2 separate regions of the Homo sapiens genome follow, and region 1 is linked to region 2. The links are contacts of gene promoters, found by promoter capture Hi-C in human tissues and cell types (Jung and others, 2019). All regions are on one chromosome and are shown on one strand. The core of a region is centred on a gene start or on the middle of the fragment in contact, and the rest is flanking DNA. Distances in the headings are between cores, read along the strand shown. Region 1 overlaps TMEM217B (transmembrane protein 217B). Region 2 holds the start of BRPF3 (bromodomain and PHD finger containing 3).

The links. The method cuts DNA at HindIII sites, captures the fragments that hold promoters and counts their contacts. A contact is called where the count stands out against the background at its distance.
Region 1: a contact is called between a fragment that was not itself captured here and the fragment with the promoter of BRPF3 in region 2, in 1 of the 25 tissues and cell types used here (aorta).

The regions. Positions count from the first base shown.
Region 1 is chr6:37,238,046-37,243,590 of GRCh38, reverse strand. The region is part of intron 1 of TMEM217B (transmembrane protein 217B); the gene reads left to right. All of the region lies in intron 1 of TMEM217 (transmembrane protein 217), which reads left to right. Among named protein-coding and RNA genes, the nearest start is that of TBC1D22B, 17 kb to the left of the region's middle. RefSeq lists an enhancer at 3,104-3,398. The HindIII fragment of the contact is 5,344 bases long and covers 1-4,923 here.
Region 2 is chr6:36,193,755-36,199,268 of GRCh38, reverse strand. BRPF3 (bromodomain and PHD finger containing 3) reads right to left here and starts at 2,525. Exons shown (of 13, transcript NM_015695.3): 1 at 2,299-2,525. It overlaps BRPF3-AS1 (BRPF3 antisense RNA 1), which reads left to right and starts at 2,066. Exons shown (of 3, transcript NR_187147.1): 1 at 2,066-3,232. RefSeq lists an enhancer at 1,771-1,820 and a silencer at 2,171-2,910. The HindIII fragment of the contact is 7,678 bases long and covers 1-3,986 here.

The DNA of each region.
Region 1 (5,545 bases), core at 1,002-3,501, 1.0 Mb before region 2:
AACCTCTGAGCCTTTGGGGAGATTGATTTGAGTAATAACTCCATATCCCATATGATATGGCCAGCCTCATATCAATTAAACTCTTTCTTTACTGCAGTGTCATGGTCTCAGTGAATTGGTTTTGTCTGTGTAGCAGGCAGGAAGAACCCACTGGGCAATTACACTGGGAAGAAGGACAGGGAGAACATGACCTTTCTCTTCAATACCTGGTGGTTTCCTCCATTTTTTTCCCCCTTTCAATCCATTCTCAGGACTTGGTCACATGACCACACTCAGCTGCACAGAAAGCTGGAAAACGTAAACCTTATTCTGGCCAACCGAATTTATAACTAAACGCCCTGTTTCAGAGTGGAAGAAGGGGCAAACAGAGAGTAATAGCCCTTGCCAAATTAAAGAAGATGGAATAATTAATGGGACAACATCTCCGTGGTGGACTTTATTAGTTATTTCCTTCCATATTCTTTTTTAAGGGGGCTCTTTTTTTTGTAGGGGCAGGGCAACTGTGTTCACAGTGTGGGCATAAATCATAATTTACCTAAACAAGTTATGGCGATCCCATTCAACTTTGCCAGAAACTTGCTTTCCCAGCCTCTCCTGCAGCTACATGTGCCATGTGACCCAGTTCTGACCAATGAGCCATGAGAAGAAGACTGCTAGGGGTTTTCTGGGAAATGTTTTACTTCCTATGAAAGAGACAAACATGGAAGAGAGCTTACTGGCACACTCCTGCCTGGGATACTGGTGTGAGTCACTGGGGCAGTCAGCTTATGACCACAAAAGTAAGGCCAAAGGAATTACAGATGCCAACCTAGAGCCCTGACACCTTTTTAAGGATCTGAATACCTTGAGAGATGAGCAGGTGAAGAAGGGGAGAAAAAATATTTGAGGAAGTGGGAGTATTAGATACATGAGAAGGAATGCTTAGCAATACCCCTGGAAAGTTGGGTCCCAGTCAGATCATGAGGGCTTTGTATGAAGTAGTGTGATTTACTGTCAGAATTACCTCATTCCAAGCTGGGGCTGGTTTCCCTGTTTGTCAGCTGATTCACCACCAAAGCATGACAGGCTTTTCTCTTTGTAGGCTTAAGAAGACTGCCCATCTCTTCCCCACTCAGAGAGTTAAAGAACTTTTGTTTTGGAAAATCTAGGCTCTTAAAGGCAAAGAAAAGATCTAGATGATATGGATGAGTAGGGAGTGCTGATTTGAAAAGTTGAGGGTGAATAGAATGGTTCCCAGCTTTCTACAGCATGTGGAATTTCCTTCCCTTGGGGGGAATAGAGAGGTACAGGTTCTGCCCACCGTGGGGGCCTGTGTTTGACTCTCTCCCAGACCCCAGAGTGGCAGAATGTTTGATGGGTTAGCTGAGTGGACACTTGGCTGGGGACTGAGCTCTAAGCCATAGTCTCCAGGGCTATGAGCAGTGGGACCACTGAAGTCTGGACATCAAGCCCTTCACAGTGACCACACTGTCTTGAAGTCTAGAACTCTTCCCTCAGATTCCAAGATTGGGTGAACTCAGGGGGTTCTATGTGACTCCATCAAGGGGCAGGGAAAGAGCAGGCAAAAAAAAAAAAAAAAAAATTGAGATCGAATTTTTCCCTAACTCCCTGAGGAAGCAGGCCAAAACAGACTTCATATTACTTTTTGAAAATAAAGACAACGCGATAAAGCCATCTCTTGTGTTAGTGTTTAGTTACAGTGCAAATTTACACGGTTACATACAAAGCCAAGGAAAAGGAGTGAGAAGAGGTCATAAATTATCTCAATAACTTTTTTAAAAAGTTAATGGAGTTTTAAATAAGAAAATATAGAATGTATGTCTCTAAGAATTCAAGCTTATATATATACAAAATGTCCATTTGTATTTTAAAAATCTAATTAAATTGGCCTGGATATTGCCAGACTAGAAAAAAATTCAATCTCTCTTATCACTGGGGATCCCTCTGGCTCCCAGGGATGACCCAGAATCCAGATGTAGAACCTGGAACAGAAAACCTGTAGCATCACTGGGGGTGCTGACAGCTGCCTCATGCCAGCCCAAGAATGGGGACCTTGGATCCTGCCAGCACCTGCTTCTAGCCGCACATGAGTTGTAGGAATCCTTACTGAGGTTGGAGGAGGGAAGACAGAATCCCTAGTGCTCAGGGTCCAGTCCCCTCTCCAGGTACAATGCTGAGATGTCGCTTTTGAGGTCCTGCTTCCCTCCTTGGAGCTCTGCCGCTGAGGAGTGAAGGGTCTTCATATTCCCCACCACGTAGACAGCCACCTTTTTTTTCTTTGACAAAGAGTAACACCTTTAGCCTGGGCAACATAGTGAGACCCCGTTTCTAAAAAAAAAAAATTAACCAGGTATGGTGTCACGCAGCTGTAGTTCTAACTACTTGGGAGACTGGGGCCCAGGAGGTCAAAGGTGCAGTGAGCCAAGATTGTGCCACTACACTCCAGCCTGGGAGACAGAGCAAGACCCTGTCTCAAAAAAAAAAAAAAAAAGAGTAATACTTTTATTATATATAGAACTCATGCACATTGAAAAAATGCTAATATCCTGATACATTAATATATTAAGTAAAGACATAACTTGCAAAAAGGTCAGTAAAACTGGTTAACAAATACTTCATAAATGTTCAACCTTAGGAATAATCAATAAGATACAAAAATTAAAATATTTTCACCTACTACTAGGTTAAATGAAGAGAATAAATCAAAATAGAATCTTAAAATAGTAATACCAAATGATAGCAAATGTGTGCTAAAACAGATAGGTACATATATTTTTGATGGAAGAGTGAATTAGTAACAACCATTTGATGTTTTGTTTTTATGTCTTTTTTTAAATTTATTTTTCTGTTTTAAATTAATCATGTTTCTCAAATACACACACATACATGTATACATACATAGAGATGTGATAGCCGGCCTCAAGTTTGCCTCAATAATCCTGGCCTCCTGGTATTTACACCCTTATGTTGTCCTCTCCCCATAGTCCCCTGCAGGGTCAGTGAGTGTGACCAATTAAATAGCTGAAGTGATGGATATCACTTCTGAGATTACTAAGACAGTGCAGCTTCCATTTTGGTCTCTCTCTCTCTCTCTCTCATCACTTACTCTGGGGGAAGCCAGTGGCCATGTCATGAGGAAATTCAAGTGGACTATAGAAAGGCCCAGGAGGTGAGGAACTGAGTTCTCTGGCCAACAGCCAAGAAAGAACTGTGGCTTCCTGCCAACAGTCAGAGAGAGCGAGCTTGGATGAAACTTCCCTCCCACAAGTAGAGCCTTTAGATGGCCCCCAGCCCAGGCCAACAGCTTGACAGCAGCCCTGTGAGAAACCTTGAACCAGAACCACCCACCTACGCTACTCTTGGATTCCTGACTCATGGAAATTATGAGATAATAAATGTTTTATATCATAAGTGTCTAAGGTTTGAGGTAATTTGTTACAGAGCAATAGTGACTAATACAAGAGTTCAGAGGGCAAAACAGTCACACATACTTAAAGGCTTTAAAAAGTCCCAGCAGTTTTCTGTCTCGCCTCTTCTTAGCCACCCAGACACATTACCCAGAGGCTACTGACCAAGTGCTAGGCTGCCACTGCCAGATTTCCTGTTAGAAGAAGAAAATAAATTTCTAGTTGTTTAAACTACTATTGTTTGAGTCTCTGTTCCTTGCAGCCAAATGCATTCTTCTTTTTTTTTTTTTTTAATGAGCTGGGGTCTCACCATGTTGCCCAGGCTGGTCTGAAACCCCTGGGCTTAAGTGATCCTCCTATTTAAGGGGAGGATCTTAACCGATATAGATGAATTAGGCTCTAAAGCTTTATAATGTGTTCGTTGTCATTGTTATTTTCCTCCCTAACCCAGTGTTGCAAGAGATCCATCTGAAATGAGTTGGCAGCAACATATTCTACTGAGATCACAAGTCAACTTGATGAGAGCAATTGAAAATAAAAAGTTCTTACCATGATTGAGTAAATCTAAGGTGCCGTCAACTGCAAAATGCATCATTATCTTAGGTACCACTGAAATACAAATATCATTAATTACACTATGCTTCAATGCTTTCTCATATCTTAGAATTTTATTTACTTATTTATTTATTTATTTATTTATTTATTTTTTAAGACAGAGTCTTGCTCTGTCACCCAGACTGGAGTTCAGTGGCACGATCATGGTTCACTGCAGCCTCGGCCTCCTGGGCTCAAGCAGTCCTCCCAAGTAGCTGGGACTACAGGCGTGGCCACCAAGCCCAGCTAATTTTTGTATGTTTTGTAGAGATGGGTTTTTGCCATCTTGCCCAGGCTAGTCTCAAACTCCTGGGCTCAAGTGATATGCCCACCTTGGCCTCCCAAACTGCTGGAATTATAGGCATGAGCCACTGTGCCCAGCCCATGACTGAATTTTTATTGTATGCTTATCAAAATAATTTTTAATACTTATTTAGACATACGGCTTTTGTTTTTGTTTTGGAGACAGAGTCTGTGTCACCCAGGCTGGAGTGCAGTGGCATGATCTCGGCTCACTGCAACCTCTCCACCTCTTAGGTTCAAGTGATTCTCATGCCTCAGCCTCCCTAGTAGCTGGGATTACAGGCATGTGCCAACATGCCTGGCTAATTTTTGTATTTTTAGTAGAGACAGGGTTTCACCCTGTTGGCTGGCTGGTCTTGAACTCCTGACTTCAGGTGATCTGCCTGCCTTGGCCTCCTAAACTGCTGGGATTACAGGCGTGAGCCACCATGCCCAGCCTAGACATAGATTTTTTAAAATCATATATCAATACTTAGAAGAATACTCAACCTCAAGAGTAACCAATAAAATGTAAAAAGTAAGTCTCTCCCTTTCATGTTGGCATCCTTAGCCTACTTGTTTTTGTCTTCATGCTTGTTGCTTCAGTAACAAAATAGCTGCTGAGGCTGCAGGCATCACACCACATTCAAGGCAAGAAAAAGGAAGAAGTGAGAATGGTGCCAGCCACATCATCTTCTCTTACCAGGAAAGGCAAAAGTCTTCCTAGATCTTCCAGCAGGTTTCTGCTTATATGTCATTTGCTAGAACTGTGTGCCATGAACACCCTGGATACAAGCAAAAACCTGGAAAAGCACATATTTTGCCTGGGTCTGGGCTCATTGCCATCCTGAGAGAAAGCAGACTTCTGGTAGCAAAGAAGGTGGAAATAGGTATTGGGAAGGAAGCTAACGGTGTCTGCTACAACACAGCTTAATAAATAGTAGTTTTATATGCATAATAAATAGTAGCTACTCCTTGGCATAAAGTAAAAATAATGATAACAAAAATACTTACATAATTATATTGTGTAAGTGCTTACTATGTGCCAGGAACTGTTCTGAATGTTTTAAATATGTTAACTCATTTAATCTTCACAGCAATTTTGTGAGGTAAATGTTACTATCCTTGGTTTTTTTTTTTCAGTGTTTTTAATTCTACTTTATATACATACAATTAGATTGATCATAATCCCTGGTTCATGACATACCCTCATTGGTCCATGCATGGCTCTCTTTTGTTTACTTTTTAAATATTAGTTATTG
Region 2 (5,514 bases), core at 1,276-3,775:
CATGCGCAGTTCACAGTAGGGTTCGCGCTCCTATGAGAATCCAAAGCAGCCGCTGATCTGACAGGAGGCAGAGCTCAGGTGGTAATGCTCGCTTGCCCGCCACTCACCTCTTGCTGTATGGCCTGGTTCTTAACAGGCCACAGTCTGCGGCCTGGGGGTTGGGAACCCCTGATCCAGGATACACCAACTAGTACATTTCCAGGCAGAAACAAACCCTAGAAGCTCTGAGAGTGGCTCCAAGAGATCTCTGAAGTTATAGTGGCCTGTCTAGGACCTTCATTCGACCGAAGGCCAAGATGATCTGGGCAGTATCTGAGGTAAACTCTCAATGCATTCTGTTACCTCAAAAGTCTCTCCCAGAACACTCATATCTAGTCTATCCTTGTACAGCCAAGAGAAAGTCCTAGTTTCCCCCATCATTCTCTGGATGACAAGCTCATAAGGAGCTGCGGTAGGCAGTTACCAAGGCTGTCACCACCAGGAGAGACCTTTGGGGATACAGGGCCCCATGGTGTGGGCAGACTTGGAAGGATATGAACAAAGAGAAGATTTCAAAGAGAAAAACAATTCATCGCCTTGGTTGCAGGGTCTACCATCTATATAAAGTAGAGACGGTGATAATAAAAGCACTTTTTCCAAACTACAAAGCCCTCTTACTTTTAATATTTCTCACAACTACCTTAGGAGATGGTGTAGCTATTATCATCTACACAGAAGCTCAGAAAGATGTCACTCAACGTAAAGCTAGTAAGTGATAACGCTACAATTTGAACCCAGGTCTTCCGATGCTCAATTCCTCTCAGTGGGAATTAAGAACACCACAGAGGTGCTATGGTCTGGTACAAAACGAGGCTCTGGGGCAATCTAGGTTCTAATCTTGGCCCTCTGTGACCTAGAGAAAGTCCCTTAAGCTCTCTATGCCTCCATACTCCATCAGTAAAATGAGGGTAACACAATCTAGCTCTCTAGGTGCTACTTGTTAATAAGGTATTATTAACATCTTTACTTGAAAGGCCTTCCAATCCCAAAGTGTGACTGAAACAAACAAAAAACCAATTTGGCTGAGGAGCAGTGCCAGGCGGGCTGGCACACACCCCATTTGGAGCCAAAGGAAACAGAATCATCGCAGCAATTCTGTCCGGGTTCCAGAGGCCCTTGGCTACTGGATTCCTTACAAATGCCAAGTCCCTGGGGGCAGACAGGGCCAACAGACCTGCTTCATCACCCACCCCTCCAAAGGCACCGAGGCCCTAGAAGAGGTGAGAACATCTGCCTCCACACCGACCCCAAACAGCGCAGACAGGCGGTGCGGCGCCCACTTTCATGAAAGCCGCTCCATCTTCTCCTTCCCCACCTGCCACCTCCTCGGCTGCTCAAGCATCTCTCGACCATGCAAGACTCTACACAGACGTGTTTTGTCCCACCCACGCCTCCAGACACCGGGGAGAAACTCTAGAGGGGGAAGGGACTGCTGATGAGGGAAATGAAAAGAGTTTCGCCCACAAGGAGCTTACAGTCTAGACGAGTTTTTTGGCGGGAGTTTCTCAACCTACACAGCCCTTCCCACATACACACCTCCAAAATATCTCCAACAACCCCCGCCCCCCCAGATTTCCCCTCGGCACCCCCTGACCCCTCGCTCACCCACCCCATCCAGGTCCCCGAAGAATGAGGAGCTTCTGCAATTAGACTGTATCCCCTGCACCTCACACAAGATACTCAGGAGACAAGGAGGACCCCAGCCAAGGCTCCTGCTCCTTTAAGGGGGCACCTCTTCCAGAAGAATCTTGACCCCTCGGAGAAGAAAGGAGGGAAATAACATCTCCTCAGAGGGGAGGGGCGAGCGCACCAGAGACAGCCTGACGTGGAGTCCGACCCTCAGACAGAGAAAGCGAGCGCCAGCGAATGAGCGGGGCGGAGAGGCGAGAACCCATTGGCTGCGTCACCTGCCCGTCAGAGGGACCCAGGGGACCTAGGGCCGCTCAAGGGGCGGGACTCTCGTCTGGCCAGGCCAATTGGAAGGCGTGGCGGGGGCGGGGCTTAGCGGCTCGGAATCCAGGGCTGGGGGGGGAGACAAGATGGCGGCTGCGGGAGGGGGTCCTCGCTTCTCAGCTCCCCCGCTCACCCGCCTTCTCCTTCCCTGCCGCCGCCCTCGCTCCAGGAGAGAGCTTTCGCACCGCCCCCGCCCTGCTCGGAAAGCCCCCCGCTTCTCCGGTTTCCCCCCGTGCAGTCCCTGGTCCCCGAAGGCCCCGATGCCCCCGCCCCCGCTCTGTCCGGCCCCGCTGCCGCCCCCATTACCTCAGCCGCCTGCCCGGCCCCACCGTTCGGGGCCCCTGGGCGCGGGCGGGCAGGCCGCCGAGCAGGTCGGCGCGGCCCGGGAAGCGGAGCGCGGTCTTCTCCCGCGCCTGCCTCCGTGGCCTCCGCCGTGCCCCCTCCCGGCCCGCGCTGGGGCCCCGGCCCGGCCGCCGCCGCCGCTCCCGGGGGAGGAGGGGGAATGGAGCCGCCGCTGCTGCCGCTGCCGCCACGGAGCCCGGCCGAGGGGAGGGAGGGATCAGCCCCCAGGCAGGATCCGCCCCTCCGGCCTCCCCCCGCCACCTCCACCCCTTCCCTCGCTCCCTCCCTGACTCTGCGGGCTCTCCCGCTGAACAGGAGCGAGAGCGCGAAAGAGGGGGAAACGGGAAAAAAATCCCCCCGCCCGTGCCTGGCGCGGCGGCGGCCGGGGCGGTGCGGAGAGGAGCGCGGAGGCGCCGCCGCCGCCGCCACGGGGCACCATCCCCGGCTCGGCCTCACGGTGGCGGTGCGGGCGCGGCGGGGACACCGAGCAAGAGACCGGGTCTGCGCCCGCCGCGATCCCTGCGCACCACGGCCCTGCCCGCCACGGGGCGAGCCCGATAAGAGGGCTGTGGACGTTCGGGTCTAGTTGGGAGAGACAGGGGTCCCTGACTCTTGAGCGGTCAGTCATTTCCTCCCCAGTCCTTGTGGGTGACGTGGCTACGGTTTGGAGCAGCAAGCCCCCTCCCCGAACTAAAGGGCCTCTCCAAAGGTTAAGCCAGGGCAGTCATTGAGGTCAAAACCAATATGTAGTTTCTTGACTGCAGGTGCCTGCACGACTCCCAGAAAGTCGCGTCTCCCCTAACCCCCATGCCCAGGACCTGAGGACAAAGGTCTAGCGATTGTCCATCCCCTCCCCCAGTGAGGACAGCCGGGAAAGACCTGCCTTTGTTGTGTACAGGTGAGCGTCTTGTTCCGCACCACACATCTTTTAAAAAAAAAAAAAAAAAATCTGACTTTCCGTTTAAAAGGAGTAAACAAAAGTTTGACAGTCTGCTTAAGCATGCCTGGTAACTCGTCTGTCACTGTGGGCATGGGAAACACTTTAAACCTGACTTGGTTAATTTAATGCATTAGGCGGCTTTCTAAAAGATGCTTGACAAATGGCAGCATCAGACCAAACTGGCTTTTGTTTTGATCTAAAAAAACAAAAAAATAAAGAAAAGGGCTCCATTGCCACCCCCTTTTGCCTGTAAACTGGAAAGCTTACCTCATGTGACTGAAGTCTTAAGCACCAATACATAATGATGTTTATAAAGGACGTATGGATAAGCTGCCTGTAAATGTGAAGGTGAGTGACAGTTTGAAAGTGTTTCCTCTGCTGGCACTTGTGGTGTAGCTGGTGAGACTCAATTTCTTTCTTGGTTCTGATGATCAAGGACATGTATTCTAGAGTCAGAAGGATGAAGGATAAAGTCTTAGGATCCAAATTTTCTGAATGTTTAAAGTGAACATACTGCTACTTTGGAAGTATAGATGTTATACTAAGGAATTTAAATATAGAGAGTTTCAAATTCAAAAGTTTGATTAAGGAAGCTAATTTGTTTCCAAGTAAATAGCATCTTCTGGCAAAGAGATAGTACAAAAATGCTTCTGTTAACCAATTTTTTAAATGCAAGGGGGGTGGCTCGTGGAGCTAAGCAAGGGCAGGACAATGTTTTGAAAGCTGTGAAGATGAAATAGTATGAATTAATGTCAAGTGTTCTGAAGCTAGGGGGAATAATCATTTGGAGGGAAGGTGTGGAAGAAAAAGATGATTAATTGTGGAAGAGAAAGCCCCAGAGGCAAGAAAATATTGCAATTACAGTACTTGTAGTTAAGAAAAAAAAAGTCTGAAAACTAACAGAAACTATTAAAACATGAAATATAATAATCATTTATACATATGACTAGTAACTTTTATTTCTTGATGGATGTTCTCAAAATTTATTTAGCACAATTCCCATTTGCGTGATCAGGAGCTATCTTTTTCCACTAAAATGAATGAATAAATACCTTGAGAAAATGCATTGGTTTCTACTTGTAAGTCAACGATTTAAATGCTGTTGAAAAGGCCTTAAGTCAACCTAATGCATGTGATTTTTTTCAGGTTTTTCTATTCAAAGCTTTCATATTAAGACCTTATTCAACCTAAGTGTTTCTCTTCCATTTTCAACTTCTACTTTTTTAATGATATCATTACAGTTGCCCTCACTTTAATTTTTGACATTTGGAATTGGTTTCTACAAGCATAACTGCACACGTAACCAGTTCCCTGTGATGGAATCTTAAATGTAACATGGAACAATTATGTTATTAAAAACAAATTTGGAACATATATCAAAAATCTCAGAGGCACTAAATTTAATTCACTTTAATCGTTTGCTATTTTAAACGGTTTAAATTCACCACCCCTGGCCTTTCCAATAAACCATACAGCAATTAAATTCAACAAACAGAGGCATGGATCTTTGATTCCAAATAGTTGTTTTTAAGAACCTTCCAGCTGTAAGTAGAAACCAACTTATTTGGGATAGGAGAAGGTTTTACCATTTAAAACTAAAAGAAACATGAATACAAAAAAAAATCACCATTTCCCCACCTCTTTCTTTCATACTTCCCCATCATACTTTTTTTCAGCATCTCAGGATATCTTTGTTAATGCTTCACTATTGTCATTAGTTTATCAGGCCAAGAAACCTCTCAGGGGTCAGACGCAGTACCCACTGGATTAATAACGTGGATGATAAGGAAAAAAATAGGCCTTGATTGATTGTTAAATTATTTTTAATAGAATATTCCTTCCTTAGATACTTGACTAAAAGAATTCTGAAACCACAGTTGGGAGGAATGTTTGAGGTTGGAATCATTGTGATACTTTTTTTTTTTTTTTTTTTTTTTTTGAGACGGAGTCTTGCTCTGTCGCCCAGGCTGGAGTGCAGTGGCGGGATCTCGGCTCACTGCAAGCTCCGCCTCCCGGGTTCAAGCCATTCTCCTGCCTCAGCCTCCCAAGTAGCTGGGACTACAGGCGCCCGCCACTACGCCCAGCTAATTTTTTGTATTTTTAGTAGAGACGGGGTTTCACCGTTTTAGCCGGGATGGTCTCGATCTCCTGACCTCGTGATCCGCCCGCCTCGGCCTCCCAAAGTGCTGGGATTACAGGCGTGAGCCACCGCGCCCGGCCGATACTTTTACACTAATTAA